Regions from separate parts of the Homo sapiens genome. Here region 2 is linked to region 1. Evidence: promoter capture Hi-C in 16 types of primary human blood cells and fetal thymus (Javierre and others, 2016). All regions are on one chromosome and are shown on one strand. The core of a region is centred on a gene start or on the middle of the fragment in contact, and the rest is flanking DNA. Distances in the headings are between cores, read along the strand shown. Region 1 holds the start of EEIG2 (EEIG family member 2). Region 2 has its middle 53 kb from the start of EEIG2.

What was found. The method cuts DNA at HindIII sites, captures the fragments that hold promoters and counts their contacts. A CHiCAGO score of 5 or more calls a contact.
Region 2: a fragment that was not itself captured here is called in contact with the fragment with the promoter of EEIG2 in region 1 in 1 of 17 cell types (monocytes); the score reaches 6.1 in monocytes.

The regions. Positions count from the first base shown.
Region 1 is chr1:108,557,772-108,562,204 of GRCh38, reverse strand. It overlaps EEIG2 (EEIG family member 2), which reads right to left and starts at 2,105. Exons shown (of 11, transcript NM_001010883.3): 1 at 1,640-2,105. The coding sequence starts at 1,776. RefSeq lists enhancers at 902-951, 1,415-1,514 and a silencer at 1,905-2,444. The HindIII fragment of the contact is 6,399 bases long and covers 1-2,330 here.
Region 2 is chr1:108,504,774-108,509,206 of GRCh38, reverse strand. It overlaps the pseudogene RPL7L1P21. Among named protein-coding and RNA genes, the nearest start is that of EEIG2, 53 kb to the left of the region's middle. The HindIII fragment of the contact is 8,656 bases long and covers 1-4,433 here.

The sequences.
Region 1 (4,433 bases), core at 856-3,355:
TCAGAATCTTGGCATCGCACTTACCAGCTGAGGGGACCTTAGGAAAGTTAGTTATGCTTTCTGAGCCTCAGTTTATTTATCTACGAAATGGAACCCCTACCTTATAGACTTGCTATGAGAATTAAATAAGATAATATATTTAGAAGCCAACACATATTTGCTGAATAAATGACTGCCTACAACGAAAGAATAAGTGACTTGTGGGAAGTAAGCCAAATAAACATAACTGAGGTAGGAAGGAAGCCCCGTAGACAAGTGCCCTGACCACCAGGTGTCACCACTGGCCCAGGAGCGCCAGTCTAACTGCCTGGCGTCGGGGGTGGCACCCTGCAGCAAAACAGTCTAGGCCTCAGGGCAAGACTGTCACCTGCACCAACAGGACCTTCACGAATCGGCTTAGGCTTTTCAACAAGTAAGAGATGGTCCAATATTTTTTTTGCACCAAAATAGGTTACATTCTTCTCTTACAGGTGTTTAAAATACTTAGCTGAATATCCACTGATGTGTCACCACAGTTTAATTTTAAAAACTGTCTTCGGCAAACTATTAATTTCATATATCCTTTGGTTTAGCCAACTAGACATTTTCTGGCTTCCATAGGCTTCAATATTGCCCCAAAGACAAGTTTCTAGCCCCAATTCCACAATCCAGTGACATTATTTCCTTTATACTATAAATGGGATGACGGAATTTTTTTTAAGTAGAATATTTTTAGGGCAGAAATAAAGCCTAAGACCAGTATATATGGGCAAAATAACATTAACTTTTAACCCTTCTTGATCTCAGGAACTCAAAAGTTCATTTAAAAAATTGTTTTCTCTCTCTATGTATATATTTTAAAGAAAGCACCTTAGGGTACATCTGTCAACCTGTGAGTAGCTCTGAAATTACTCAAGAAACACTGCCACACCTATTATTAATGCCACACCTATTATTTAATAGCTTCATTCTGTAACCTGCTAATGCCTCTCTCTGGGAGTGCCCAGGGGCTCATTTTAAAATGAGGGCAGGGCCTGGGCTCCCCATCTGGCTCTAAGCCCTCCCACAAGGAGACCTACTAGTGGCCACTTCAAGACTAATTCATCCAGCATTAGCGCCTAACTGGAGACGCCGCTCTCTGATGAGGCACAGACCGTTGTCTCGTCTGCCAGGAGCACTTGACTCAAGTCAAGCCTGGCCAGGCCTACCCCAGCCTCAGAGTGGGTGGCCAAGTCCCCTTGTAATCTACAAGGGAGAAGGAATTGTGCTAAGCACAGGTTTCTGTTCAGAGCTGGGCTCTTGGAACTCCTGCAGTTTGGGTTATTTTAGTTTTTAACAGCTCAAGTTCTACTTTGCATTTCACAAATATGGAAATGTCTTAAGAGAAAACAGAAGCATCCTCCCTCTCTGGCCATTGCTCCCATTCCTAGAGGATTTGGGAGGGAAGAGCAGATACCAGGCACCATCTGGAGTCAGGAGCGCAGGAACCAAGGCCAGCTGAGAAGAACCCATTTGCAAAGCACTTTGCAGATCAATAAATTCGACTGATTTTAGAGCGGTCCCTAGGGAAAGGCGAGCAAATGGGCCAAGGAGAGATGCTGCCCATCCAACAAGCCCTGGCCAAGCAGAAAGGGGCGAGGCGGCGCGGGAGGCGAGTTACCTGGAGGACTCGGCGGTGAAGCTGCCGCCGTCCAGCAGCCGCATCTTGCAGAAGAGGACCCCATTGACGAAGGGCACTGAGGAGAGCTCCTCGAGCTCGAAGTCCACCTTAAACTTAAACTTCTTCTTCTTCATCATCGTGAGAGCCAGGCGCCTGCAAGCTGGGCGCACGGCCGGGCGCCGCCGCCTCAGCTTGGCCGAGCCCCGGATCAGCCCAGCCCCATGGCCGGGGCCGCGAGCTGTGCGCGGGGGCGCGGCCGGGGGGCGCCGCAGGCCGGCCGCGGCCGGGGCCGCTGCCGCCGCCTCTCGCGGCAGCCTGGGCCGGAACGCGGCGGCAGCTGCGGCGCGGACCCCGACCGCCCGCGGGGAGCGGTCGTGCTGCAGCTCGCCCGGGGAGGTGAGCGCCCTTTTGGTGCTCAGCTCGCCGCCGCCGCCGCCGCCGCCTCCGCCGCCGCTGCCGCCCGTCTGGGAGTCGGGAGAGGCGAGGCTCGAGGAACCGCCGCCTCAGCGCCTCGGGGGTCGGGGGCGCCCCCAGCGGCCGCGGCCTGCAGCGCACGGCGGGGCGGAAGCCGGAGGGAGGGCGGGGACTTTGTGGGCGGGCGCGGGCTTGGCCGCGGACTCTAACCCGCGACGGCAGTTAGCACGTCACGCCTTTCTGGGGTTAAAAAAAGACAAACCCGACAGAGAAAGCTTCCTTCTACCGCTTCCTCTCCGCCTTTCTTTTCAGTTTTTGCACCGCCTCCTTTCTCCCCCACCCCCTCCAGTGGTTTCTTTCCTTTGGGTTTGAGAGCCATGGGTTAATAGAGGCAATTAAAATCTCAGCGTTGTTTTGGTCAAATTGAAATCCTAAAACTAAAATTTCCGTTAGGTACTCTAAATTCACGAGCCTTCAAATATAAAAGGAAGATAAGGTAGGAAAAAGGAAAATGATGTGCTGAGGGACTATCAAGGGCCCAGGCACCGTACTGCTGCAGGCGCTTTCTCTGGGGTATAGCTTATCTAGTTCCTGTCACCCAGGACAAAAGATAAAAGAGCAAAGAAGCAGTTAAAATAATACCCTCCCTTTAAAAATTTGTCTGTCTATACTGAGAACTGAAATGCTTAAAATCAAATTCTGCAGGCAGTCTGGCATGGCTACGCTGTAATCCCAGCTACTCGGGAGGCTGAGGAGGGAGGTTAGCCTGAGCCGGGGAAGCGGAGCTTGCAATGATCGGAGATCGCGCCACTGCACTCTAGCCTGGGCAACAGAACAAGCCCCTGTCTTAAAAACAAAACAAAATCTTCAGAGCAGGCTTAAAAAAAAATCTCCCTAGGGGAATAACAATTACCTGCCTTCTGTAATCATGCATGTATTGTTACAATGAATGTTACAAAGTTGGTTACGTGATGTTCATGTTTTTAAACTGAGTTATTGTCATTTTCACTCAGATTCTGCCACAGTAATTCTGAAAGGGTTTAATTGAAAATATTTTCTTTCTCAGTTTACTCGTTTACTCATTCATTCATATAAAAAAATTGCTTAAAATGTCAATCATCGGCTAGACCCCATAACCAAAAGCCAATAACTGCCCTCAAGAATTTTACAATCTAGTGAGGAAGACATGTTTAGACAGGTCATTAAAAAAACACAACCTAGCACCAAGCTATGTAGAACTCAGAGAAGCAATTAATTGAAGTTAATCAGTTTTCTGAATTTCAAAGGATGAAAATGATTTGGGACAAAGTGGGGTAAGTTGTTCTAGGAGAAATAAATTAAAAAAAAAAAAAGATTCAGAGGCAGGTTCGGGGGTGGGGATTTGGTAATGGATAAAGCTTCTTACCCTGCAGGACAGGGGGCAAAGACAGTGAGATGCATTTGGGGACTTTGAGATTTGTCATTTAGAGCACTGGATGAATGTTAATTTCATTGACTGAACATTGAAAGCAAGAGGAGGGCAGGTTGGGAATGGAAGAGATAATGAGTCTTTATGGGATCTGCTTGCAGTACATCTAGGGAGAGAGAGGCAGCCTTAGCTCATAAAAATGCATTGGCAATTGAAAATATACATTTGGGAATTGAGGTAATCGCTGATGGCTGAAGCCCAAAAGGTGGATAAGGATGAGTTACTCTGAAGAATATTTAAAGGGTAGGCAAAGAGGAGATCGTGAAGGTGCCTAAGAACAAGCAGTCAAGAGAAAAAGGAGATGAAGAAAGAGATGGCCTGGAAGCCCAGACGGTTTTAATCATGTAACATTCGTAGTTACAAAGTTCTATTGTGTGCCAGGCACTATGCTGGGTACTAGAGATGCAAATGAATAAGACATAGGGGCTTATAAAGGAATGGAGAAAAACAGAGATATGCAAACAGATCAACTAAAGTGTGTGTGTGTGGTATGTGAGTATGTGTGTGTGAGAGAGAGAAGAGAGAGAGAAAGAAAGAGAGAGAGCAATCTGTGATCCATGTAGGACAGAGGACCATTTCAAGAGAGTGCTGCAGAGCAGTCCCAGAGGATTTGGACTGAAAAGAAGCTACTGAATTGAAGGTCTAGGAGGTCATTGGTAATCTTGGCAAGAGAAGTCATCATAAAAGATAGTGACAAAGTAAGATGAAAAGTGACAAAGTAAGTGAAAAGATGACAGTGAAAAGTAAGATAGTGACAAAGTAATGTGGGTAAATAAAAATTATATTTTTATTGATGTTTTTCTGATTTTTTTGTCAGCGAATGAAAAGAGAGAGAGAATGGTGACCAGAGGAGGACAGTTCAATCTTTTTCAATAACATTCAGGAACTATCCAATATTTATTGAGTGTCTAT
Region 2 (4,433 bases), core at 1,304-3,803, 53 kb after region 1:
CTGACAGCCAGGCGAGCCCATCTCATGGAAGAACCTCACTCTATTCTTGATAGCGTGATGGGCCACCAAGAGCTGGAAAGGGTGCAGGAACCATGAGATCTGGAAATACTTCCTTGGGAAGGCAACATCATGAATGAGGTCTTCTAAGCAAATGACAGCAAACTTCCTCAGGTGCTCCTCACTGTGTTGTCTGTTGGAGAGATGGTCTTATTCTTGACCTTGGCTTGTCCGTGTTTCAAGATGAGTTCCCAGATGGGCTTCAGATTTAGAAATCCCCAGGTCATATAAGATTCCAATATGTACAGCAGTTTTAGGCTCTGGGGGTGGCTTTTACAAAGACACTACTAAAAATTTTCTTTAGGTGAACCATTTTCTTCTTGCAGTGGTTCTCTGCACCAGTAAACTCATGCTATTAATTTTTAGGATGTGTACAACAAAGGCCAAGGAATGTTTATCTGGCAATTCCAAGGCATGAGATTTCACTTCTAGTCATCTGAGAGGCACCTTGTTGTGTTTCTGCCACCGGAAATCATGTAGGAACGATTCCAGTTGCTTACACCTGAGGCCATTTCTCCCTTTTCTTTTTTTTTTTTTTTTTGCTAAAAGTGCATTCTTTGCCTGAGTGGCTCTGAGGACAATAATGCACTAAATAATATTTGCTTGTGTATCTTTTCAAACTTTCCAGTTGATCCTTATTTTCTTTATTCCTTTAAAGGAGTGATGGATACTTCAGAAATTTATCGATGCTCTCAAGTTAACAGGTATAAATATTCCTAAAAAAGAGGCAGAGAAGATTCTTGAAAGGTCAGCTCTCATATATGTATGTATATATTAAACTTAATTTTTATTATTATTAATTTTATTAGCTCTAAACCCTTTTTAATGATAAAAGTGATAACTATGGAAATGTTAGAAAAATATGAATAATGGCTTTTCATTATTGAACATCTGTCTGCTAGCACTCTTCTAAGAACATTACATACATTATCTCATTTAATCCTCACAAGACTTTAGAGACCAAGTCTATTATTTTTCACAGAAGAGGAAATTGTTGAGAAGTGAGGTTAAGTAACTTCCCCAATGTCACCATAATCCAATCACCCAAATGTTAACCTGGTATCATTTTAGTGTATAGATTTATTGCTTTTTATAAGATTATGTCATTTTATATTTATCAAGTTTGATCCTTTTTGCTGGGCATGTACTAGCTAACGAGGATGCAGTGGTAGCCTGGCCCTTGTGCCTGTCCTTACAGAGCTGACAGTCCACTGTGTGTGTGTGTGTGTGTGTGTGTGTGTGTACACGCACATGTGCTAACAGTGAACAGACAGTTGCAATGTGGCAAGGATTATGACAGGAACATATAGAAGAACAACAAAGAAAAGTATCTTATCAGGAGAGTGCTGAATTTTATTAAACTGTATAATGTGTCATTTGACCTATTTATATAATGAATTATAGTAATAGATTTTGTCATGTTAAACATTCCTGAAATAAGGCTAACTTATTATGAACTATTTTATACAGAACAATAAAGAGAATAATATAACCAAAAACCATACCTACCACTGTGTTTGTCATATTTAACATTTTACATATTTGATTCAGATTTTTAAAAACAAAATTACAGGCAGCAAACATTTTCAATGTATTATTCTCTAAACCCATTTCCTCCATTCCTGCCAGAAGTAACTACTATTCTGAACTTATTATTCTCATATAGACTTTTATATTTGCATACATTTTACTATACATATACTGTTAAAATATAGGATATTGTTTCTTATGTCTTAAGCCTTTAAATGGTGACATACAGGATTTTTTTATGACTATTTTCTAATCCTTCAATTTTTGGAGATTTATTTATGTCAATGCATATAGCTCTAGTTCAATTATTTTAACCACTGTATGGTTCCATTTAATAAATATAACTCAGTTTACTTATGAATTCTGATGGTGGTTATTTAGGTTAAAAATTTCTTTTGTTGCTAATATAATATAAAGCTGCAATGGATATTCTTGTGTGCATCTCCTTGTGTATTACTTGCGGTGGAATTGTTTGGTCATAGGCTTTACAGATATTTAACTTTAATTAAATATTCCAAATTGCTCTCCAAAGTAGTTGTACCACCTTAGATTCCTACCAGAAATGTATTTCCATTCCAACACTTGATACCGTAGTATTCTAATATTTTAATATTTTCCAAACCTATGGGTCAGAAATATTATCTCATTATTTTTAATGTAACTAAATGTAATTAATTATATTCCTTATTACTAGTAAAACTATCTCTTCATATATTTGCTGGTCATTTGGATTTTTTTTGTGAATTACCTGTTTATTCCTTTTGTCAATTTTTCAGCGAGATTGGTTGTCTTTTTCTTAATGGCTTGTAGGTGTTCTTTCTAAATTCTGGATATTAATCCTATGTTGGCATTATGCAATATGAATATCTTTTCCCAGCTTGTTGCTTATTTAAAACAAATTTTTGGTGTTTTTTTGTTGTGCAGACATTTTAAATTTTAATGCAGTTATATTTGTCTCTTTTTCTTTTATGGTTGTGCTTTTGACATATTGAGAAATTCTTCCTTACCCTGGGGCATGAAGATATTCATCAATATCTTATTTAAATATTTAGATATTTCATATTTAGTTCTTTAATTCACCTGTAATTGATGTTTGTGTATGGTGTGAAATAGGGATTCAATTTCTTTTTTTTTCTGTATAGTCAATTGTCCTATCACCATTTATTGGTTAGTCCCATCCTTTTCCTACAGATTTGAAATGCTTACCTCTAGTCATATATTAAATTTCCATCTGTGTATGGGTGTGTTTCTGGTTTCCTTTTCCTGTTATATTAGTTGTTGTCTACTGTGTATCAATACCGCATGTCTTAATTACTATCACTGTATAATACATCTCGACATCTGGACTTACATTCATCTCCAATAGTGTCAATGCTATTTTTGACCCTTTCCTCTTCTATATGAATTTTAGAATCAGATTGTTTTGTTATATACATGTGCATACACATGCACATATATATATATATCATTTTTGGAATTTTGATTGCAATTTATTGAATTAATAGCTTAATATTGGGGAGAATTGATGTATTTATGATGTTTCATCCTCTATTTCTTGAACATTTTATGTGTCTTCATTTTTTAGATCCTTCCTTTTTTCAGCAGAAAAGAGCAGCAATAACATTATTGAAAAATATCCATTGGATCTGGCGTTTGGGAGATTTCCGGGGATGTCAGTGAAAGGAGTTTGAGTAGTGTGGTAAAGGGTTAAGTCAGGTTGCATAAGGCTGTTGAGTGGGTGAGGGTGAGGATGTGGGGACTGTGGTTTAAGAGAAATGGTTAATGTGGGGATGTGGTTTAAGAGAAATTTAAATGAGAAGGAGAGGACAAGTCTTTTTAAATTTTATTTTTATTATCTTTTGGTGGATAGGAGAGATCTGAGAAGTAGTCACCAGAGAAGGACATGTTGGATCTGTTATAGAGACAGGAGATGACTGATTGGGAGAAAAGGGTTCCAACAACTCAAGACAGGGAGTCCTTGAATAAGACTCAATATTTCAACCTCTGAGTGTAGAGCACAAGAGGTGGTGATGAAAAGTGGATTTATTTATTTACTAACAAATATTTATTGAGTGTCTGTGATATGCCTGTCATTCATCTAGGTGCTAAGGATGCAGTAGTGAAGGAAATAGGCCAAAATCCTTGCTCTCATAGAGCTCACCATAAACAAGAGGAGAAAAACAATAAACTAGATAAATAATTAAGCTATGTTAGATAATGAAAAGTGCTAAGGGGAAATGAAGCAGAGGAGGGAGACTCGTGTGTGTGTGTGTGTGTGTGTGTGTGTGTGTGTGTGTGTGTTGGGGAAATGCAATTTAACTGTGGTGAGTAGGGAATTCTTGAAAGTGACATTTGAGTAGAGATAAGGAGGAAGTAAGAGAGGGAGCTATGATGATCTTTGGGGGAAGAGCTTTCCAGGCAAAGGAAATAGCAACAGCAAAGGGTGAAGTAGGTAGTGTCTCTGACAGGGTTAGGGCATTGAGAGGAGGCCAGTGTGTGCAGAATAGAGTGAATGAGGGAGAGCGTGGTAGGAGATGAAATCTAGAGGTAATAGGAGGCCAGATCACATAAGGCTTCCAGGAAATTGTAAGAACTTTGGTTTTTACTCAGTTAAGTCATTGGGTGGTTTTAAACAGAGGTGTGACATGATCTAACTTAAGTTTTAACCATCTCATTCTGGCTGGTGTACTGCGAATAGTTTATAACGGCAAGGGTGAAAACAGAGAGACCAATTAAGACAGTGCTGCAATAATAACAGACAAGATTTTAGGATGGCTTGCACCAGGATGGATGAGGGTGAGAAGTGAGTAGATGCCAGGTAGATTTTGAAATACTGACAAGATTTA